Linked DNA regions of Homo sapiens: all the other regions are linked to region 1. Evidence: promoter capture Hi-C in human tissues and cell types (Jung and others, 2019). All regions are on one chromosome and are shown on one strand. The core of a region is centred on a gene start or on the middle of the fragment in contact, and the rest is flanking DNA. Distances in the headings are between cores, read along the strand shown.

What was found. Contacts are between HindIII fragments. The study calls those that stand out against the background at their distance.
Region 2: a contact is called between the fragment with the promoter of IGSF23 here and the fragment with the promoter of BCAM in region 1, in 4 of the 25 tissues and cell types used here (IMR-90 fibroblasts, adrenal gland, liver and 1 more).
Region 3: a contact is called between a fragment that was not itself captured here and the fragment with the promoter of BCAM in region 1, in 1 of the 25 tissues and cell types used here (lymphoblastoid cells).

The regions. Positions count from the first base shown.
Region 1 is chr19:44,807,499-44,811,378 of GRCh38, reverse strand. BCAM (basal cell adhesion molecule (Lutheran blood group)) reads right to left here and starts at 2,276. Exons shown (of 15, transcript NM_005581.5): 1 at 2,173-2,276; 2 at 33-154. The coding sequence starts at 2,254. The HindIII fragment of the contact is 22,699 bases long and covers 1-3,880 here.
Region 2 is chr19:44,611,947-44,615,826 of GRCh38, reverse strand. It overlaps IGSF23 (immunoglobulin superfamily member 23), which reads right to left and starts at 2,264. Exons shown (of 5, transcript NM_001205280.2): 1 at 2,057-2,264. The coding sequence starts at 2,181. RefSeq lists an enhancer at 351-852. The HindIII fragment of the contact is 19,410 bases long and covers 1-3,880 here.
Region 3 is chr19:44,635,999-44,639,878 of GRCh38, reverse strand. It overlaps IGSF23 (immunoglobulin superfamily member 23), which reads right to left. Exons shown (of 5, transcript NM_001205280.2): 5 at 3,098-3,460. Among named protein-coding and RNA genes, the nearest start is that of PVR, 6.0 kb to the left of the region's middle. RefSeq lists an enhancer at 2,836-3,130. The HindIII fragment of the contact is 6,031 bases long and covers 1-3,880 here.

The DNA.
Region 1 (3,880 bases), core at 1,027-3,526:
TGACTCCAGGCCCCCCAGCCCCAAGCACTCACAAGGAACCATTCCAGCATATAATGGTCGTGGGTTCCCGTAGGGGTGCAGTCCAGAATGACAGACTTTCCTCGCATCACCTCCACCAGCGGGGGTACAGACAAGCGCACCTCCGCCTGGGCATCTGCAAGAGAGCAACTGAGCTATCATCCACCACACCAACAGGAAGAGCCCTCCAGACAGGGTCCCCTCTCCCCCAGGACACAAGCGTCCAGGTCCCAGCCCCTCCTCCCTCAGACCCAGGAGTCCAGGTGCCAGCCCCTCCTCCCTCAGACCCAGGAATCTGGGCCCCTGTCCCCTCCTCCCTCAGACTCAGGAGTCTAGGCCCCAGCCCCTCCTCCCTCAGACCCAGGAGTCTAGGCCCCAGCCCCTCCTCCCTCAGACCCAGGAGTCCAGGCCCCAGCCCCTCCTCCCTCAGACCCAGGAGTCTAGGCCCCAGCCCCTCCTCCCTGAGATCCTTTCGCCCTCCATCCCTTCTCCCTGCATCTCTGGGTCTCAAATCCATCTCTCCCTGCACTTGCAGAGCTCAGGGCTCCTCCTCTGGGCTGCACAGGGCCCTGTGGCCTCCGCTGAACACTCCTGGGGTAATACTGCACCAGCCTTTGCTTATCCCAACAGAGCACACGCCACCCCCCAGGGCAGGGCCAGGCCTGGCTCAGCCATTTGCCTCCAGCACCCTGGGCAGGGCCACCTCTGTGATGATGGATAAATGTTTCTCTCCATCCTGGTCTCCACCTTTGCGTGTGTCTCTCCTCTTGGGTCTCCATCTCTGTCCCTGTCTCTGCCTCTCTCTGCACCTGCACCACTCAGTCCCTGGGTCTCTTCCGCTCTCCCATGAGTGAGGGGCTGGGGTGTGGGCTGCGGCTGGGCCCGGAGCTTAGGCGGGATGGATGTGTGGGGGCGGTGAGGGGGGACAGGGCTGGGCAGGTTTCAGGAATGTGGGAGGGACAGGCTGGCTGAGACCTGCCCGGCCTGGAGCCAGAGCCCCCAGCCGCCTCTTGGCCCCCCTCAGTTTGATACAACAGCAAACGGGATAAGTCGAGTCATCTTGCAAAAGGATAAGGTTGAGGCCCAGGATCTTGGGAAGCTGGGCACCTGGACTCCTGGGATCAGAGGGAAGAGGAGGCTGGGGCCTGGTGGAGTAGTTATTGTAGAAAAACCACCACCCTCCCTCACCCTCTGGGCTGGCATCCTGGCATCAGCTCTCAGTGCTTCTTAGAAACTCCCTTCCCTTCTCTGCTCAATCTGGCCCAGCCCTACCCCTGGGGACCCACTGTTGACCATGAGTGTGCCAGGGGCCTGGATTCCCAAGCGCTCACCTCTGGCCCCAGCCTGTCCCCAGGGAGGGGTGACGGGGTCCAGGCTGGTGCCTAAGGCTGGGTCTGATCTGCAGACAAGTGGAGGCAGAGAGTTCCTCTCTCTTCCCCAATCTCTCTCATCTCTCTGTCCCTCTGTCCCCAGCACCCCCACCCCCACCCCCCAGCCCCCGGCCTCCTCTCCTTCTATCCTCATGCAGGTGTGTAAATGTAGCTGAGGCCCCAGGAAGGGGGCCTGTCACTTGGAAACACTTTGTTCCACTGTCACTGCCCGGGGCTGGTGCTCCAGCCCTTTCCTGAGGGAGGCGGGTTCTTTATACTGGACTCTGGAAACTCCTAAATACATGTGGATCGCTGGTGTGGGGACACATGGTCCTCGCTTCTCTAAGGGGTCCCTGGACCTCTCAAAACTTGAGGACCTTTGAGGGAGAGAGCCCTGGGGTTTTGATCCTCTGTGCCCTGGGGGAAGCTATTCTAGCCACTGGAGGCCTGGACTCCTGGGTCTGAGGAAAGAGGGGCTGGGGGCCCAGATTCCAGGGTCTGAGGGAGGAGGCAGGTGGGACCCAGATTCCAGGGTGCTGAGTGGGAAGGGGGCTGACTTCTCTGGTTGTCTCTGATCCACCGCCTGGGTATCCCCAGCTCTCCTGCCTGGCTGTCCCCAGATCTCTCTCACTGGAAGGCGTACCTTCCAACACTCCCATATCCCTCCTCCTTGGGGTCCCCACATTTTGCTTCCTGGGGTCAGGGTAAAGCCCTTTCTCCTCGCTTTCCCGGGGTCCCCAGGGGCCTCTCCCCAGTCCCACCTTGCCCTCAGCCCGAGCCATACCTGGGTGCGCCGCCAGCAGGACTGCGAGCAACAGCAGCCGCGGGGCCCCGCGCGCCTGGGCCGGTGCGTCCGGGGGCTCCATGTTCACGGCGGCGGCGGAGACTGAGCCCGGGCTGCAGCTCGGCCGCTGCGGGGCTGGGAGCCAGAGGCCCCGCCCCCGGCAGCCCCGCCCCGCCCCGCCCTCCAGGCCCCCCTCGTCCCCCGATGCCCGGGCGCGGGGCCAGGACCTCCCACTGCCCGGAGCGGACCTCCCAGTGCACGGGGCCAGGCTCGGGGCTCGTCCGCCCCCAAGCCTAGAGCTGTCCGGGCTTACTGACCAGCGCCTGCAGCGGGGGGCCTGATCGACCAGCGTAGCCAGTGACCCGAGCTGGGATCTCACCAGGCAATCGCGGACCTTCTCCTCGTTATTCTGACCAGGGGCCTTGGGGACTCGTCCCCACTGTGACCAGCAGCCTGGGCTGGCATCGTCGATTTTAACCAGAGGACCCCACTGCAACCTGTGGCCTGCGATGGCCTCTCCCAGTGTAACTAATGGCCCCAAGCGTGCCGTCCGAGTGGCCTGCACTGGCCTCTCCCAGTCCAACCAGTGACCCCCGCAGCCTGACCAGTGGCCCCCAGCAGCTGCTCCCAGTATGCCCGGAGATGTTTTCCCCTGTGGTCAGTGCTCTGGGCTGCTTTCCTCGTCTGACCAGTAGCCTGGAATCAACCGGTTTAATCTCTTATTTTCAATGGTCTTCAAATCCAGGTCCTCCTAGGCCGCTTCGATGATGGGGCTGGGGGTGGGGTACGGGGTGCCCTCTCTGCTTGCTCACCCATGGAAGGCCCTCCCACTCTTCCCCCTATCCAGGGAATCCCAGGAATGCCACCCTCCCTTCCTCCTTCCCGCTCTCTCCTTCATTCCCTCCCAACCTTGTGGGGAAGGGAGGAGTCAGACTGGCCAGAGCAGGTGAGGAGGGCAGGGGAAGAGGCCAGGGCACCTGCGGGAAGGGGGAGGAGTCCAGCCACTGCTAGGAAGCGTGGGTCACAGGTCCGACTGCCCAAGGCCCCTACAGGCCAGGTCAGACTGGGACAAAATCCCCCACTAGATGTCACTAGTTGCCCAGGACAGTGGTCAGAACGTGGGAGGGTGGGGGGTCGCTGGCCACACTGGGAGAGGTTACCCAAGCTTCTGATCAGCCTGGGGGTTGAGGTAGCCCTGGAGCTGGGCTTTGCCTGCTCAGACATACAGAGAAGGCTTGGATTACAGGTCAGCCTGGGAGTTATTAGACTGGTCAAGGTTACTTTATCCATTGGTCATACAGGAGACCAACGTTTTTTTTGTTTGTTTGTTTTGTTTTTGACAGGGTCTCGCTCTGTTGCCCAGCCGGGAATGCAGTGGGCGCAATCATAGCTCATTCAAACCTCAACCGCCTGGGCTCAAGCAATCCTTCCACTTCAGCCTCCCAAGTAGCTGGGACTATAGGCTTGTGTTACCATGTCCAGCTAATTTTTGTATTTTTTTGGTAATAGAAACAGGGTATTACTATGTTGCCCAGGCTGGTCTCCAACTCTTGGGCTCAAGTGATCCTCCTGCCTTCCAAAGTGCTGGGATTACAGGCATGAGCCACTGCATCCATCCTACAGAGCAACTGTTACATTGGGAAAGACCTTTTAGGATTAACTGTACCATCCCCTCCTCCAGGAAGTCCCCTCTGCCTTCCCTGGCTGG
Region 2 (3,880 bases), core at 1,015-3,514, 200 kb after region 1:
TTTCTTTCCTTCCTCCCCTCTGCCCTCCGCCCTGAGAGAGGCCTCAGACAACAGCTCTGACAAAATAGGGAAGAGGCCCACCACGTCCCTTTCCTCCTTCCAGTGTGACACCTGCCTGAGCTGGGGACAGAGCAAAGCTTTGAACTAGGTGGACTTTGAGGTTTTAAAATTACATGGAACTGAACTTTTTTTTTTTTTTTTTAAAGATGGAGTTTCGCTCTTGTTGCTCAGGCTGGAGTGCAATGGCACCATCTCAGCTAACCGCAACCTCCGCCTCCTGGGTTCAAGCAATTCTCCTGCCTCAGCCTCCCAAGTAGCTGGGATTACAGGCATGCACCACCACGCCCAGCTAATTTTCTGTTTTTAGTAGAGACGGGGTTTCTCCATGTTGGTCAGGCTGGTCTTGAATTCCTGACCTCAGATGATCCGCCCGCCTTGGCCTCCCAAAGTGCTGGGATTACAGCACTTTGTAATCCCAGCCACTGCACCCGTGAGCCACTGCACCCGGCTCAGAACTGAACTTTATTTATTTATTTTTGAGACGGAGTCGTGCTCTGTCGCCCAGGCTGGAGTGCAGTGGCACGATCTTGGCTCACTGCAAGCTCCGCCTCCCGGGTTCACGCCATTCTCCTGCCTCAGCCTTCTGAGTAGCTGGGACTACAGGCGCCCGCCACCAGGCCTGGCTAATTTTTTGTATTTTTAGTAGAGACGGGGTTTCACCGTGTTAGCCAGGATGGTCTCGATCTCCTGACCTCGTGATCCGCCTGCCTCGGCCTCCCAAAGTGCTGGGATTACAGGTGTGAGTCACCGCGCCCAACTCAGAAGTGAACTTTTAAGACCTGGATAAGGAAGCAATTCATTCACTATCTGAGAGGCAGATGTGTGTGGTCTCTGGAAAGTGTGGTCTGGGAAGCCAGCCCATCTGGCTTCAAATCTTCAGTCTGCCACTTCCAAGTGTGTGACCTGGAGAGGGCACATGACCTCTCTGAACCTCAGTTTCCCCTTCTGTGAAATAGGGATCGTACAGCTCTGATCTCAAAGAGTTGTGATAAGAGGTAAATGTTACTATAGGAAAGCACTTAGAACGGGCTGACAGGCTGGGCGCAGTGGCTCACGCCTGTAATCCTGGCACTTGGGGAGGCCGAGGCAGGAGGATCGCTTGAGCCCAGGAGTTCGAGACTAGCCTGGGCAACATAGTAAGACCTCATCTCTACTAAAAATAAAAAATTAGCTGGGTTTGGTGGCGCATACCTATGGTCCCAGCTACGCAGGACGCTGAGGCAGGAGAACAGCTTCAGCCCAGCAGGTTGAAGCTGCAATGAGTCATTATCGGGCCACTGCACTGTAGCCTGGACAACAGAGCAAGACCTTGTCTCAAAACAAAACAAAACAAAAAAACAAAAACCCCAAACAGGCTGGTATATAGATCTATTCAGTTACAGTGACCTTCTATTACGGCTGTTATTATTTTATGATTGTTATTATTTATATGTATTATTACTAAGTTGCGGATTGCAGGGGTGAGACAGGGCATTCTGGTGGAAGGGGGCTGGGCTGGGGTCCCAAATTCTGATCCTGCCCCTTGCCAGCCCTGTGATCTTGGGTAGGTGACCTGTTCTCCTCTTTGCGCCTCACTTCCCTTCTTCCTAAAAGAAGCCAATAGGGTCATCTCTTGTGGCGGAGTGGCCTTCAAGAGTTCTCATGAGTTGGGTGCCTGAGCTGCATGGGCCTCAAACTGACAGGGTCAAAGCTCTGAGTGGGGGTGACTTGGACTCGTAAGGAGACACTCTCCTCCTTGTCCCTGGCCCGTGGTGAAGCCGCTGTCTCCAACGCACCTGTTAAAAGCAGCTTCCTCCAGGTAGGGGTGTGGCTGGAGCTGACGTCCAGAGGACCCCTCATCTCGTGTTCTGTCCAGGGACTGTGCAGAGAAGGTCTCCTCATCACACATGGGGTCTTCATAGACCTGTACAGTCGCGTCTGCAGCCCCGGCCTCACCCTGCAGGACCCTGCTCACGATGACCATGCCCTACCCTGGCCACTTCCCCACATGACTTACACCAAGTTGGCTGGGAAGTCACCTCCAGCCGCATCCTTCTCTAGCATCGGGTCAGTGGTGGTGGTGGGTGGGGACCAGGCTGGGACAGGGTTCCTGGGAAGGGGGCTCTGAGGTTTTGCTCTCATTCTCTCACCGTACAATCCCCGCCGGGAGATGGAGGGAGAAGCAGAATCGCCCGCTCCTATCACTCACATCAAAGGCAAGGAATGGCCAAAGGTCAACCTGGTAGGAGGTGACGGGGCTTTGGACTCTGAACCACAGCTTTTCTCCTCTGTAAAATGGAGGCGTTAATAATAGTGCCTGCCCCAGAGTCAGACAGGGCCGTGGACACAAGGTGCTTGGAGTAGTGCCTGGTCACGTAGTAGGCGCTCAACGAATGGCAGTCACTATGAAGTCAATGCTAATTATAATTTGGTGTCTAGGATGTCCTGGAGGCATGTTTAGAATCCCGTTATCAGGAGCTTGCTCAGACTATATCCTGAATTTTAGATTCTAGAAGGATAAGCTACACTAGCTACTTTTTCCTCACCCTTCTCACTCCCCAGGTCCATTCTTTCCTCCTCAAATTAATAATTATATTACTCAAACTAATAGCTGGTGTTTATTGAACACCTACTATATGCCGGACACAGCATTAACCTTGTAACAGGGTTGCCTAATTTGAATCCTCATAGCAACCTCGAGGGGTAGATATGAGCATCCCCATTTTCTCGTGGTGCACAGGGGCTAAGTAACTCACCTACCATCACACAACCGTTCACAGGGGCTTTCTGCCAGTTTTTGGAGGCACCAGCTCAGGGGCTTTGCATGAGCCGTTCCCTCTCCTTAGAACCTTACTCATGTAATCTCAAAGCTGACTGTATCTTATTATTTTGGCTTAATTCACACACATCACTCTATCAAAAAGGCCTTTCTTAATGCCTGCTGCAACTCAGTTCCCCACCTCTTTGCTAGCAAGCCACACTGTTTTGTTTTCTTTACATCATTTACCGCTATTTTAGATGATTTATTTATTTGTCCACTTGTATTATCTGTCTCTCCCTCCTTAGTCCCACCTCTCCGACTTGAATATCAGATCCAGGAGGGCAGGGATGTTGTCTGGCTTGTGGCTATGTCCCTAGTGACTAGAACAGTGCCTTGCATATAACAGGTGCTCAATACATGTTTTTGTTTTTGAGACGGGGTCTCACTCTGTCAGCCAGGCTGGAGTGCAGTGGCACGGTCATAGCTCACTGCAGCTTCAACCTTTTGGATTCAAGCAATAATCCTGCCTCAGTCTCCTGAGTAGCTGGGACTACAGTCTCACACTACCATTCCCAGCCAATTAAATTTTTTTTCTTTTTGTAGAAATAGAGTTTCACTATATTACCCAGGCTGGTCTCAAACTTCTGGGCTCAAGTGATCCTCCTGCCTCAGCCTCCCAGAGTGCTGGGATTACAGGCATGAACCACCTAGCCAGCCTACATGTTTTCTTTTTAGTGAATAAATGAATGAAGAGCAAGTGAGTGAAATGGGAGTGTTCAGACTTGAACTCAGATCTTTCTGACTTAGAAGCTCATGCTTTTCCCTCCCAGAGAGGTTCAGGTTCCACCCAGGGGCTAAGGTTCACCCATAAGTCTCTAATAATAGTCATTATCAGGTGACACAGTTATTTCTTTATTAGCATTTGCTAAAGTGCCTTTTTTATAGTTGGTCTGAAGGCCTCTGCTGGAGTGATTAGCTAGGTCAGGAGACCACTGTAGGAAAAAGTAAATATTTACGATGCAGTTAATAACCATTATGTTGTAAGGTTTCTGGGGTTTCTACCCAGCCAGTACTCTCTTG
Region 3 (3,880 bases), core at 930-3,429, 170 kb after region 1:
TTCCCTCAGTATTTATTGATCACTATCCCTACTATCTCGGTGAGGGGGATGTGGCAGGACTATAGGGTAATGGTGGGGAGAGGGTCAGCAGGAAAACGTGAGCAAAGGACTCGGTGTCATAGATAAATTTAAGGAAAGGAGCTGTGCCTGGATGTGCACGTAGGCCAGATTTATGTTTGACTTTACACAAATATCTCAGTGCAGTAAAGAGCAGTATTGCTGCCAGTGTGTCTCACCTCCAGCCATAAGGCAGTTTTCTCCTATCTCAGTAAATAGAATGTACGATCGGGTTTTACACCGAGATATTCCATTCCCAGGGACGAGCAGCAGACAGATGCCCTCCTCTTATCTCAACTGCAGAGAGGCCTTCCTCTTTCACTAATCCTCCTCAGCACAGACCTTTTATGGGTGTCGGGCTGGGGGACGGTCAGGTCTTTCCCTTCCCACGAGGCCATCTCTCAGGCTGTCTCAGTGGGGGAAATCTTGGACAATACCCAGGTTTTCTTGGGCAGAGGTCCCTGCTGCCTTCCGCAGTGTATGGTGTCCCTGGTTACTTGAGACTGGAGAATGGCAATGACTTTTACCAAGCATACTGCCTGCAAACACATTTTTACCAAAGCACATCCTGCACAGCCCTAAATCCATTAAACCTTGAGTCAATACAGCACACGTTTCTGCGAGCACAGGGTTGGGGCTAGGGTTACAGATTAACAGCATCTCAAGGCAGAAGAATTTTTCTTAGTACAGATCAAAATGGAGTTTCTTATGTCTTCCTTTTTCTACATAGACACAGTAACAGTCTGATCTCTCTTTCTTTCCCCCACACTTTTGAGGTCAGGAGTTCAAGACCAGCCTGGCCAACATGGTGAAACCCCATCTGTACTAAAAACACAAAAATTAGCTGGGTGGTAGTCGTGCACACCTGTAATCCCAGCTACTTGGGAGGCTGAATCACTTGAGGTGGAGGTTACAGTGAGTCAACGTCATGCCACTGCATTCCAGTCTGGGCAACAGAGTGAGACTCTGTCTCAAAAAAAAAAAAAAAAAAAAAAGAAATATATGGTCTAAAAAGTTATTTATTTAACTGCTCAACAAATGGCAGCAATTATTATTGATGTCTCCTGGGGCTTATGATTCTTTATCTGAAAAATGGGCATAGCATGGCACAGTGGCTCAAACCTGAAATCTCAGCACTTTGGCAGGCTGAAGTGGGAGGACTGTTTGAGAAGAACGCATTAAAGCTCTTTGGTGCGATGCCTGACAATTACCACTATGGAGACGTGGCTGCTCTTTAAACAATTTTTAAAATTTTTTTATTTTTGGCAGAGTCTTGCTCTGCTGCCCAGGCTGAAGTACAGTGGCACAATCTTGGTTCACTGCAACCTCTGCCTCCCGGGTTCAAGCGATTCTCATGCTTCAGCCTCCCAAGTAGCTGGGATTACAGGCCCGCACCACCACGCCTGGCTAATTTTTTTTGCATTTTTAGCAGACAAGGTTTCGCCATGTTGGCCAGGCTGGTCTTGAACTCCTGAGCTCAGCTCAGTCAATCCATCTGCCTCGGCCTCCCAAAGTGCTAGGATTACAGCTGTGAGCCACTGTGCCCGGCCAAAAAAATTTTAATTTTTAAATTTTATTTTTCTTAAACACCAACTCCAACCAGAAGACCTGGCTGCTCTTTTATTTATTTATTTTTTTTTTTGAGACGGAGTCTCGCTCTGTTGCCCAGGCTGCAGTGCAGTGGTAACGATCTTGGCTCACTGCAAGCTCCACCTCCCGGGTTCACGCCATTCTTCTGCCTCAGCCTCCCGAGTAGCTGGGACTACAGGCTCCTGCCACCACGCCAGCTAATTTTTTGTATTTTTAGTAGAGACAGGGTTTCACTGTATTAGCCAGGATGGTCTTGATCTCCTGACCTCGTGATCTGCCTGCCTCACCTCCCAAAGTGCTGGGATTACAGGCGTGAGCCACCGTGCCCGGCCATCTGGCTGCTCTTGTTATTAATGATCTTAATGTTGTTCTCTAGTACAGCTGACCCCTCCCTCACCAGGAAGCCCTCCTGGATCCTCCAGTCTCCATTAAGACTCCCCCCTGGCCTCCCAGAGGAGAGTGATGACTCTGGGTCATCACTGGGAACAGGTCTGTCTCCCTCACTGTACTATAAGCCCTAGGAGGGCAGGCCCAGGGCTGCTGTGGTCACCTCTTGAGGCAGGAGAATAGGGAATTAGGGTAACCAAGGGTAAAGCCATAAGCAAAAGAACGCAGGTACACCTAGTTCTAGGCAAGATTAGGCAGCACACAAGCCACATCCCCATTCGTGTGATAACAAGGGACAGGGTTTCACCATGTTGCCATGCTGGTCTTGAATTCCTGACCTCAGGTGATCTGCCCGCCTTGGCCTCCCAAAATGCTGGGATTACAGGCGTGAGTCACCGTGCCTGGCTAACATCTCTTACTTATTTTATTTTATTTTTGAGATACTGTCACTCCCTCACCCAGGCTGGAGCACAGTGGCCATGATCTCGGCTCACTGAAACCTCTGCCTCCTGGGTTCAAGTGGTTCTCCTGCCTGAGCCTCCCCGGTAGCTGGGATTATAGGCATGTGCCCCCACATCCGGCCAATTTTTGTATTTTTAGTAGAGATGGGGTTTCACTATGTTGGCCAGGCTGGTCTTGAACTCCTGACCTCAGGTGAGCCACCTGCCTTGGCCTCCCAAAGTGGTGGGATTACAGGTGTGAGCCACTGCGCCTGGCCTGCTATGACACATTAATCATGTAAGGTAAATAGTCAGTGGCTGGCACATGGAGAGCCCTCAACAGACAAGACTTGGACTCAGTTCTGCTACTATTATTGCTAAGCAGAATGCCATGTTAGGTGGTTCTGTGTTGGTCACAGAAGCACCGAATTTTCCTCAAATGTGAGATATATCCCCCAGAGGAGTTTCAGCCATACTTGTGTGCCCTGTGCCTGCTATCTGTCAGGATCCTCCTATGGAGAGGTATTAAACTTGAACAGTGCAAAGCTCAAAGGTTGATCTTATTTGCAAACATGCCTCTCCCACTCTCAGGAAGAGAGGCTTCATGAGAAACCATTCAGAAGTGGTGGTGTTTTAATTTATTTTTTGGTTCTTTTTGAAAAAGAGAAAAAAAAAGCAGCATGTGTAAAAGACATATTTTGGGGTCTGGCCAATTTCCAAGGTAAAACCTCCCCCCTGTTTTCTGAGCACTGAGCTCCCACAGACAGGGATGAGCCTCTGATGCTTTGCTTGCACAACGTGTCACGGCGATGGGACCAAGGATGGCACCGAGTCAACCCATCAGATGTTTTCTTCAGGTGTTTCAGAAACAGGGCAAAGGGAGTCTGGTTACGTTGGGTTGTTCCCTTGAACAGAGATGTTGTAGACTTGGAAGCTATGGGATGGGTTTTTTTTTCCACGTGGATAGAGAGGTACAAAGCACCCATCTGCAGAGAGAGACAGAGAACTGTAAATTCCACATGCAGGAGGAAAGGAATTGTAAGGGCTTGGGGTGGGGGTGAAGTGTGTGTGTGGGGGAGGCTGGCAGAGAGAGCTGTGTGTACTTCCACATTTCTTCGTAGATTGCAAAAATGGCCACAGATTTTTCCCTTCTTAGCAAGAGGTGGAGTCAACTTCCCCATCCCTTGAATTTGGCCAGTCATGTAACTTTGGCCAATGAAGTCCTTTCTGTGGCAGAAGTGATGGCATGTCCATTTTGAGCTTGAGACTTAAGGGGCCTTGAAGTTTCTGCTGTTACTCTTGGAATCCTGCCTCTGCCATGTGAACAAGCTTGGGTCACCCTGCTGGAGGATGAGAGACAACATGAAGGAGAGGCCAGTTGTCCCAGCTATGAGGCTATCCTAGTC